Linked DNA regions of Homo sapiens: all the other regions are linked to region 1. Evidence: promoter capture Hi-C in 16 types of primary human blood cells and fetal thymus (Javierre and others, 2016). All regions are on one chromosome and are shown on one strand. The core of a region is centred on a gene start or on the middle of the fragment in contact, and the rest is flanking DNA. Distances in the headings are between cores, read along the strand shown.

What was found. Contacts are between HindIII fragments. The CHiCAGO score rates a contact against its expected background, and 5 or more counts as called.
Region 2: a fragment that was not itself captured here is called in contact with the fragment with the promoter of CDK17 in region 1 in 17 of 17 cell types (activated CD4 T cells, naive CD4 T cells, naive CD8 T cells and 14 more); the score reaches 27.1 in activated CD4 T cells.
Region 3: a fragment that was not itself captured here is called in contact with the fragment with the promoter of CDK17 in region 1 in 1 of 17 cell types (activated CD4 T cells); the score reaches 5.2 in activated CD4 T cells.

The regions. Positions count from the first base shown.
Region 1 is chr12:96,398,942-96,401,820 of GRCh38, reverse strand. It overlaps CDK17 (cyclin dependent kinase 17), which reads left to right and starts at 1,382. Exons shown (of 17, transcript NM_002595.5): 1 at 1,382-1,835. RefSeq lists an enhancer at 399-618 and silencers at 1,039-1,368, 1,459-1,638, 1,819-1,978. The HindIII fragment of the contact is 3,343 bases long and covers 1-2,879 here.
Region 2 is chr12:96,069,097-96,071,975 of GRCh38, reverse strand. No RefSeq gene overlaps it. Among named protein-coding and RNA genes, the nearest start is that of TRD-GTC2-8, 35 kb to the right of the region's middle. RefSeq lists an enhancer at 219-719. The HindIII fragment of the contact is 5,233 bases long and covers 1-2,879 here.
Region 3 is chr12:96,141,725-96,144,603 of GRCh38, reverse strand. No RefSeq gene overlaps it. Among named protein-coding and RNA genes, the nearest start is that of LINC02452, 29 kb to the left of the region's middle. The HindIII fragment of the contact is 6,494 bases long and covers 1-2,879 here.

The sequences.
Region 1 (2,879 bases), core at 133-2,632:
GTATATTTGCATTCTTGGTTGGTAAACAAGTGTTAAATACGCGTAGAGCATAATTGTTGCTAATTTACGGGTCCTGGTAATTTTAGAGGCATGGGAAAAGCCTGATTGACACGTACGATCGTTGGATATAACTGTAGATGCATTTAACTTTGCCAAACAAAATAAGAGAAAGATGTCAGCATGCAGCATTTTTAAGGGGGAAAGGATTCATCCCTAAATCCAAAAAGATAATTCCCCGAAGTTCTTAGCACATAATGTGATTTGAAACTTCAAAGCAGCTTCTACTTCCGGGTGTTAACATGGGAAAAAAAATTTATCTCACTTCACAGGACTTTTATGTGGGTTTTTTTTTCTTGTTTATGTTGTCTACATCCGGTCCCTACTCTCTTCTTTCAATCCTCTCATTATCTCCCTCTAGGGGTTTAAGTTTGTTTTAACTTTATGCTTTTATCCTTATTAGTGGAAAAAAGTGGGTCAGTATTACTTTAGTTTGTCTTCACTGCCACTCTGCTGTTCATTCCTGAACTAGCTTTTAGCCTCTGGGAAAGGAGAAAGTAAAAACAGTTGCAGAAACTGGGCCAACCTCTCGCGGCCCGCCTCCCCCAAGAAAACAAAACCTAACCCGTGCAACAGTAGTCCTTTCTGTTTTCATAGCACCTTGTATTTCTCCGCTCATAACGTTCAGATTTTTATGATAGTTATTGATCATCTTTCATCCCAGCTAGACTCTCCGTCCTTAGAGGACTCAGCATATTGCCGGGCACATGATAATATATACAAAACACTGTACTGTAGTTTAAATGAATAGATGCCGTGTGTGTGAGAGACTGCGGCACTAGTACCCACGTACCCACACACAACAAAGGAGAAAAGTTGCAGCCATCAACATCTTTCAGTGTGGGTCCTTTGACATGGACTCTCTAGAAAGTCAGTGGAGAACTGTGGCATGGACACCTTGTACAGTAATTACTTGTATAACTGAAGCACGAGTTTTGGTTTGGTAGCGGGAAGTTGAGGGGCAGGGGGATGTTGGAGGGGCTGAATTATTCACATAATTTCTCCCCCAGTCGCTGCGGACAGGCACTCATTCCGGTGGGGTCCCCTGGCCCCCTCCGCCGCTCCCCCGACGCCCGCATTTCGGAGCGGGCAGTTTCCCGGGGACACCCGCCCCGCCCTGCAGGCCCCGCCCCCGGCCGCCGGCCCCGCCCCCGCCTCCGCCGCCGCCGGCAGGGGTCGCGCTGCCCCCGGCGAGCCGCTCAGGCGGGGGTGGGGTAAGCTCCCGCGGCCGGTCGCTTTTCTCCGCCGCCGCTGGTTGGATCGTTTCAATAAAAGTGTTTTTTCTCTTGCACTCGCTCTCCTCCGGGGAACAGGCGGAGGCGTCAATCCGCAGCCGCCGAGTGTGAAAGCGACGCACACGCAAGGAGCGAACGCGGCCGCCCGCAGTCTCCTGAGCTCCCCGCGGGCCGCCGCAGAGCCGCGGAGAAGGAGCCAGCGCCCGGCCAGACAGTCTCAGCCCGCCGTCGGCGCCCGCCGCGCTCGCGCCCGGCTGCTCCGAGGGGATTAGTGGGCCGTCCGCGCGGCTCGTCGGCGCGGGAGCCATGTTGACCGAGGGACTTGGCAACGCGTGAGACACCCGCGGCCCCTCCCGAGGCTCCGGACCCGCGGCGAGAGCCGGAAGGCGGCTGTGGCGGCGGAGGCCTGCGCTCGGAAGCGCCTCACGTCTGCCGGCCGCTGAGACCCGGACTTGCATCCGGTCGCCGCGGGCGTCCGCGGAGCAGCTTCCCCCCGCGCCTCTCTTCGCCTCGCCTCGGGACCCGCGGTCCCCGCTCTTGCTGGTGAGTTGGCGGCTGGCGTCCGCGCCGCGCTTTCCCCTGGTGTCGGGTCGGCCGCGGGGCCGGGAGGCTGCGTGGGACAGAGGCGGGGGCGGGGGCTACTGGGGGCGCGGGTGGCTCAGGCCCGGTCGGGAAGTTGAGCGAGGAGGCGCGGCGCGGGGGGCTAGCGTGCGCCTGTCACCTCTCCGGTCCAGCGAGGACCTTGGGTCGCCCGGGGATTTCCGGGGCTCGGGTGGGGTGTGAGTGTCTGCGAGCTGCTTCCCAGGAGGCGCCGACAGATATAGACGCCGCCGCCTCCGGTGCTCGCTGCCGCTTTGGTCTGCGGGGGAGGCCGGTCTCCTCGCGAGGCGGAGGAGGGGAAAGAGGCAGAAAGTCCCCCGAGACACAAAGGTCCCCTCGGCGGGGGTGGAGCTGGAGGCGCAGGCGACGCTGCCCGGGAGGGGAAGGAAGGGGCGCGGGTCCGCGGGAGGTGGGCGAGGAGGCGGCGGTCGCGGCGCCTGCAGCTCCTTGGAGACGCTGGCGCTGTGCGCGGGTGGGGAGCGCGGAGGAGGAGGAGGAGCCCGCGCGTGGGAGCGGGTAGAGACAAAGATCAGGGCAGCCTCCTGCTGGCGGGTCACACCCCGGAGTGTTGGTCAAGAGCGGAGGTAGAGGGAAGGTGGGAAACCCAGCAAACCGATGGGGAGGGGAAAATGGGGGGAGGAGGGTGCCTAGTGCTGTCTCCGTCGCAGTTGCTTTTCTCAGCATTTTTGTGCCCGATGCTATGCCCGATGCTTTTGCTCCCCAACTCAGCTGGATAGCTCCAGATTCCCTCCCTCCTGTCACCCCCACACTGCCACATTGACTCTCCTGTGGTTTTTCCCTCGTTCTCCCCCTACTTTTCACCCACTCCTTTTCGGGTAAGCAGTATTTTGCTTTCAGCTTGGGGAACATTTGTTAATGACAGGATGTCTGAGCTTGTTCTGACCCTGAACTGCCTTGAACTTCTCTCTCTTCCTCCCACCCTTTCCTTTTCTGGGATCTATAATGTCACATGGCCGTTAACAATTA
Region 2 (2,879 bases), core at 104-2,603, 330 kb after region 1:
CGACAGAGCAAGACTCTGTCAAAAAAAAAAAAAAAAAAAAACCCTCCACTTTTTTTTATTTTTAATTTTTATTTATTTAATTAATTTTTTTGTATCATTATTTTTTTTGTGATGGAGTCTTGCTCTGTCGCCAGGCTGGAGTGCAGTGGTGCGATCTCGGCTCATTTCAACCTCTAACTCCCTGGTTCAAGAGATTCTCCTGCCTCAGCCTCCCAAGTAGCTGGGATTACAGGCACACGCCACTACGTCAGGCTAATTTTTGTATTTTTAGTAGAGACAGGGTTTCACCATGTTAGTCAGGATGGTCTCAACCTCCTGACCTCGTGATCCGCCCGCCTCGGCCTCCCACAGTGCTGGGGTTACACACGTGAGCCACCGTGCCTGGCCTAAAAAAAAGTTTTTATTGTGTCCTCAGTGGGGATCAGAAAATATAGTTACTGTGTTTTTCCTTCTGCATTCTGTCTGAAATTATGTCTTATTTTTAAATTTATTATTGAATGCCGCATACTGTCATTTTGTTTCCTATCTTGGATCAGGTTGTAGGTACTGTGTGTGAGTGTGCATTTGTGTGTGTGTGTGTGTGTGTGTGAGCGAGAGAGAGAATGTTGAATTGAGGTCTTTCAAGGAAGGGTTAAAGAGCCATGTGCGAATGAGCTTCTGTTCCACGGCAGGCATTTAGAATCACGGTGCTTAGAAGACGTGGTATAATGATAGGCTGCTGGTGATGATATTGCTTCCCTGGGACGCTTCAGGAAGGGTGAGGAGACTAATTGGCTGGTCTGGCAAACAATTCAAGATGAGACCAAAAGGAGGAGCCATCTGCTGGCAGGAAGTAAATGGAAATTCACCTTAGCGCTGGCCCTTCCACAGTGGGTGCACAGATGGTGACAGGCGGAACCCTTAGGGAGAGAGCGAAGGCCCTCATCTGCCAAGAGAGGAACAAAGGGGATTTGCTATTGCCTCCAGTGAACAGCCTCTTCTTTCATTTTGAGATCATGTAAGGAGTTTGCCCACATCACAAACCTGTTAGTATGAGCTTGGTGGCCTTGGGGAGTTTCCAGGCAGTATTACTGTGTAGAACTAAGAGTGAGGCTTTAGAGGAAGCAATGGAGATGGAAGTAATTGGTTTAAGATCCTGGACATGGGCACCCTCTAATCTGGGATGACCTCATGTGGCTGTGCAGCACAGAACAGCAACGGGGCTCCATTGACATGCAAAAGGCATTTCCTCGACACTCCCCCTCCCAGCCCTGCTGCAGGTCCCAGTCTGCACAGTGCTTCAGGGCAGACCTCCTCCTGACTGCTTGTAAGTTGAACCTTCGATTCAACTTTATTCCACCTGCTCAATGTAGTCCTTCGAGTTTCCAAGCAGGAAGCATTGCAAGGGCGAGTAGCTGCTGCAATAAGCCCTCATTTCTGCAAAGGAGTGGTAGTGTATGTTTTCCCAATATACCCACCTCAGATATAGTAATTTCTAAACATATCAGTGGAAACAGAATAAAACCTCTTAGATGCAAATTATCTTGGTTGCAAGGGTAAGGAGTAGGGGGGAAACCAATATGAGTTAATAAAAGAACTGAACATACTTAAAATAACATGAAATTTTTTCCCTCTAATTCCATGAGAGGTTAGACATGTAATTTCTTTACACTTGAATACATTGAGAGAATCAGTTAGGATAGCACTTTTTAAAATTTTTAATTTTCTGTCTGAAAGCCATCACTGTAAGGACTATTACTGAAAATTTAAAGGCCAAATATTTAAACGATATGAAAAATATACCATCTTGCTTAACAAGAAGTCCTGAGACAGGACAGATGCAAAGTTCGTCAACTCAATGGCTTAACAAGGTTAAGAAAGATTTGGGCTGTTTACAACCTTCCTATTCCGTTCTCACTTAGCAGGGCAGTTTTGAACCACCAGGTACCTCCCCTCATGGTCACAAGATAGCAGCCATGGTTCCAGCCATCTCACACAAATCCTACAACATCCTTTAGATGAATATTCCCTCCGTGTGTGTGTGTGTGTGTGTGTGTGTATGTGTGTGTGTGATCACAGAGGAAAAAACCTTCCCCAGGAGTACCTCATATACATACAGCTTAAACTGCTAAAACAAAAAAACTAAAAAATACGATGGTTCAAAGAAGAAAGCAATTTATTTTCTTTTCATGTATCAGTCCCAATGTATGTAAGTCTTTCTGTCTTGCTCTGCCATTCTCTGGAGTCATGTGCTTGCTTGAAGCTGGATTAGCAGTACCACCCAGTGTGCAGAAAGGGATTAAGAGAGAAAGTAAAGAACAAGCATTCTCCTTCTTAAAAACATGGTCTAGAAATTAGACTCATTATTTTTTTCTCACATCCCATTAGCCAAAACTTGGCCACACCTTGCAACGATGGAGGCTGGGAATTATAGTCTGTAATTGGGCATGCGCCTAGCTAACACTGAATGTAACTTCTGCTGAAAAGAAAGGTAAAGTGAATGTAGGGAGAAATTAACATTCTCTGCCATACTCCTCTTGTCAATTTCTGCTCACGTCTCATTGGTCAGAATTACTTAACATCATGGGATCTAAACCACTAACAGCTAGGGAATGAGACCACCAGGACTGGTTTAGGTCAGGGTTCTCAACCTCAGCACCATTGACATTTTGGACTGGATGGTTCTCTTTGTTGTGGGGGCTGTCCTGTGCATTGAAGAATGTTTAGCCGCACCCCTGCCCTCTACCCGCTAGATGCCAGTAGCACAATATGCTTACCTCTGTGGCAACAAAAACTGCAAAATATTGCCGAATTACCTCCAGTTGAAAATCACTACCTTACATCAACCACGATTTTGCCCTCTAGCAGGAATAGGATGCCCCCTTCCCTGAATCAAGTTT
Region 3 (2,879 bases), core at 179-2,678, 260 kb after region 1:
TCTTCGGTGTCAATTTTCACCATTCAGAAGAGATCAATGATCCTGGGTGAAATTGCCAGTATGAGAGCAATTTTTCTAGTACCAAGAAATTTTAAGCCGGGTGTGGTGGCTCACATCTATAGCCACAGCTACTAGGCAGGGTGAGGTGGGAGAATCACTTGAGTATAGGAGTTCAAGGCTGCAGTGAGCTATGATTGCACCATTGCACTCAAGCTAGTCTCTGGAAAAAATTAAAAAAAGAAAGAAATTTTGCTGCTTAGGAATTTGTGGCTTTGCAGTATGCAATTTCTCCCTTTGCAACCAACTTTGCTTCCCCTTTCTTATTAGACATTTCAACTTTAATGAATTTACTTAGAAAATTACATTTTCAGAGCAACTGGAATTCCTCCTTCCAGGATGGAGTTCACCCTCCTTCCCTCCCACACTGGGAATTTTTCCTGAGACAGGTTTCCGCAAAAGTACTCTTGAGTCTTTTCGACGTGGCGACTGTTCACAAGGCACAATTGTTTGTCTTCAACTCGGAATTCATCTCCATTGAGTCAGGAACAAAATCAAGGCAACAGAGGCTTTAAAATTCAGACAGGAAGTTCTGCCCTTTTGACTTGGGAAACTGAAAGGAAGGTGAGGAGGAAGATGATAAAGAAAAATACCAGGGGGAGGTTGGATATGTGTGCCTCTTATACACATTCCACATTTTCCCAACATTTTTTTAAGGCAGAAGCAGTCTTCCTAAAGACTATTGATGAACAAACTCCAAGTGAGCCAGGAGACAGCCCACCACCACCATCCAGCAGGCTCCTTTGCATACATCCCTTTTGCACAGATATAACGAAGGCAAGCAGTTCCAAGAGAGAGGTGGGGGAAAGAAACCTTGAAAAGAGTTGTACCCTCCCAACAGAGATGTACTTTCAACACTCAAGTCTGCCCTTTCCCACTCTGGTCTCTCCCTCCCCATTTTCTTGCCTTTGTTCTTCCTTCCTGTTTGGTTACTCCTGCCTCTTGTCTGTCTCTGACTTGCTTTGACCTGTTCTCCCCTGCGGTCCTTGGTGCATCCTTCCTCTTTCTGCTCTGCCCTAGTTATCCCCCAATCAATTTCTCTTTATTTATTTATGTTACAGACGAAGTCTTGCTCTATCACCCAGGCTGTAGTCCGGTGGCATGATCATAGTGCACTGCAGCTTTGACTTCTGGGTTCAAGCGATCGTCCCATTTCAGTCACCATGCCCACCTAATTTTTCACTTTTTTTTTGTAGAGAGAAAGTCTCCCTATGTTGCCCAGGCTGGTCTCATACTTCTGGCCTCAAGCGATCCTCCCATTTTGGCTTCCCAAAGCACTGGAATTACAGGTGTGAGCCACCACACCCAGCCCAATTTCCTCTTTATTGAAACCACTTTTATCCCATTTCCTTAATTTCTACCATTTATTCTTAACAGGGTTTTGAGAAACAGCCCCTCCTCCCTGTGTGTAGTATCAGAGGCTGCTTTACAAATTGTACAGTAGGTCCAGGAGTTACACATCTCAGTGAATGCTCCACTGACAACTGGGACTAAACTAGGCTAAAACTAAATCCGTCAGCCTGTCCAGATTCCTCTTACTCCCGCTACGACTTCTTTGGTCCTCCTTTGCCTCATCTACTTGGTAGAGCCAGACTAGATCCCTCTCTCTTCTCCTTCCCCAAGGCCTATTGATTGATATTACTACAGTGTCTTTTTATTTTTTTAACTTGAATGTTTTTTGAAGTCAAAAGTCTCCCTATTTTGCCCAGGCTGGGCTTGAACGCACATCCTTCTGCCTCAGCCTCCCCAGTAGCTGGGACTACAGACGTGCACCACTGTGCCCGAACTGGAGTGTTTTGTTTTGTTTCTTTGTGTTTTTTTGAGATAGAGTCTCGCTCTGTTGCTCAGGCTGGAGTGCAGTGGCGTGATCTCAGCTCACTGCAACCTCTGCCTCCAGGCTTTAAGCAATTCTCCTGCCTCAGCCTCCTGAGTAGCTGGGATTACAGGTGCACACCACCACACACGGCTAATTTTTTTTATTTTTAGTAGGGATGGGGTTTCACCATGTTGGTCAGGCTGGTCTCGAACTCCTGAACCTGTAATCTGCCTACCTCAGCCTCCCAAAGTGCTGGGATTACAGGCGTGAGCCACTGTGACCGGCCTGCAGTGTTTTTTAAATGTTTTCCTTCCTCTCTCCTTCCATTGCCCTAGTTCAAGCCTTCATCATCCTCACCTGAACTGTTTATATACATTCTAATCCTGCTTTGGCACCTTCTGCTCCTCCCCTTTCCCATCAGATTTGGTTCTCTAAAACACAGATATGATCGCATCATTTCCCTTGCTTAAAAATCTTCAAGGTTCCTAGCTCCTAAGGGCAAGTCCACGTCCTACAACAAGACATTCAAGGCCTTTCACCACCTGGTTCAAATTTACTTTTCGAGCCCCATCTCCCATCATATGCTAGATCCTTGGCCACCATGCATTGAATAAAAAAAATGGTTTGGTTTGTCTTAATGTTTTGTCCCATGCTTGTAGTAGCTGGAGTTTATTGCCAGGGCCCCAAAATGAAAACACACTGGTTCTTGACCGGGTAAATGCAGAGGCATGGCTACCCTGAGTTGTCAATCTGGGTCCTACAAAGGATCCCAAATACTAACTGTGTGAGCTGTGGTCAGTCCTGTGGGTCACCTCACTTCTTCAGGCCTAGCTTTCCTCATTAATACCATGAGGCTTAGATGACTTCAGGATTACCCTCCAGCATTAAAGGAGGATGCATAAGATGTGCAAACTCACCAAGCCAGACTCCATGGGCTGTGGAACCTTGGTGCATTTCCCCGGTACTAACTGACCTCCCAGTTCTGTCTGTCCGGAGCTGTTATCTC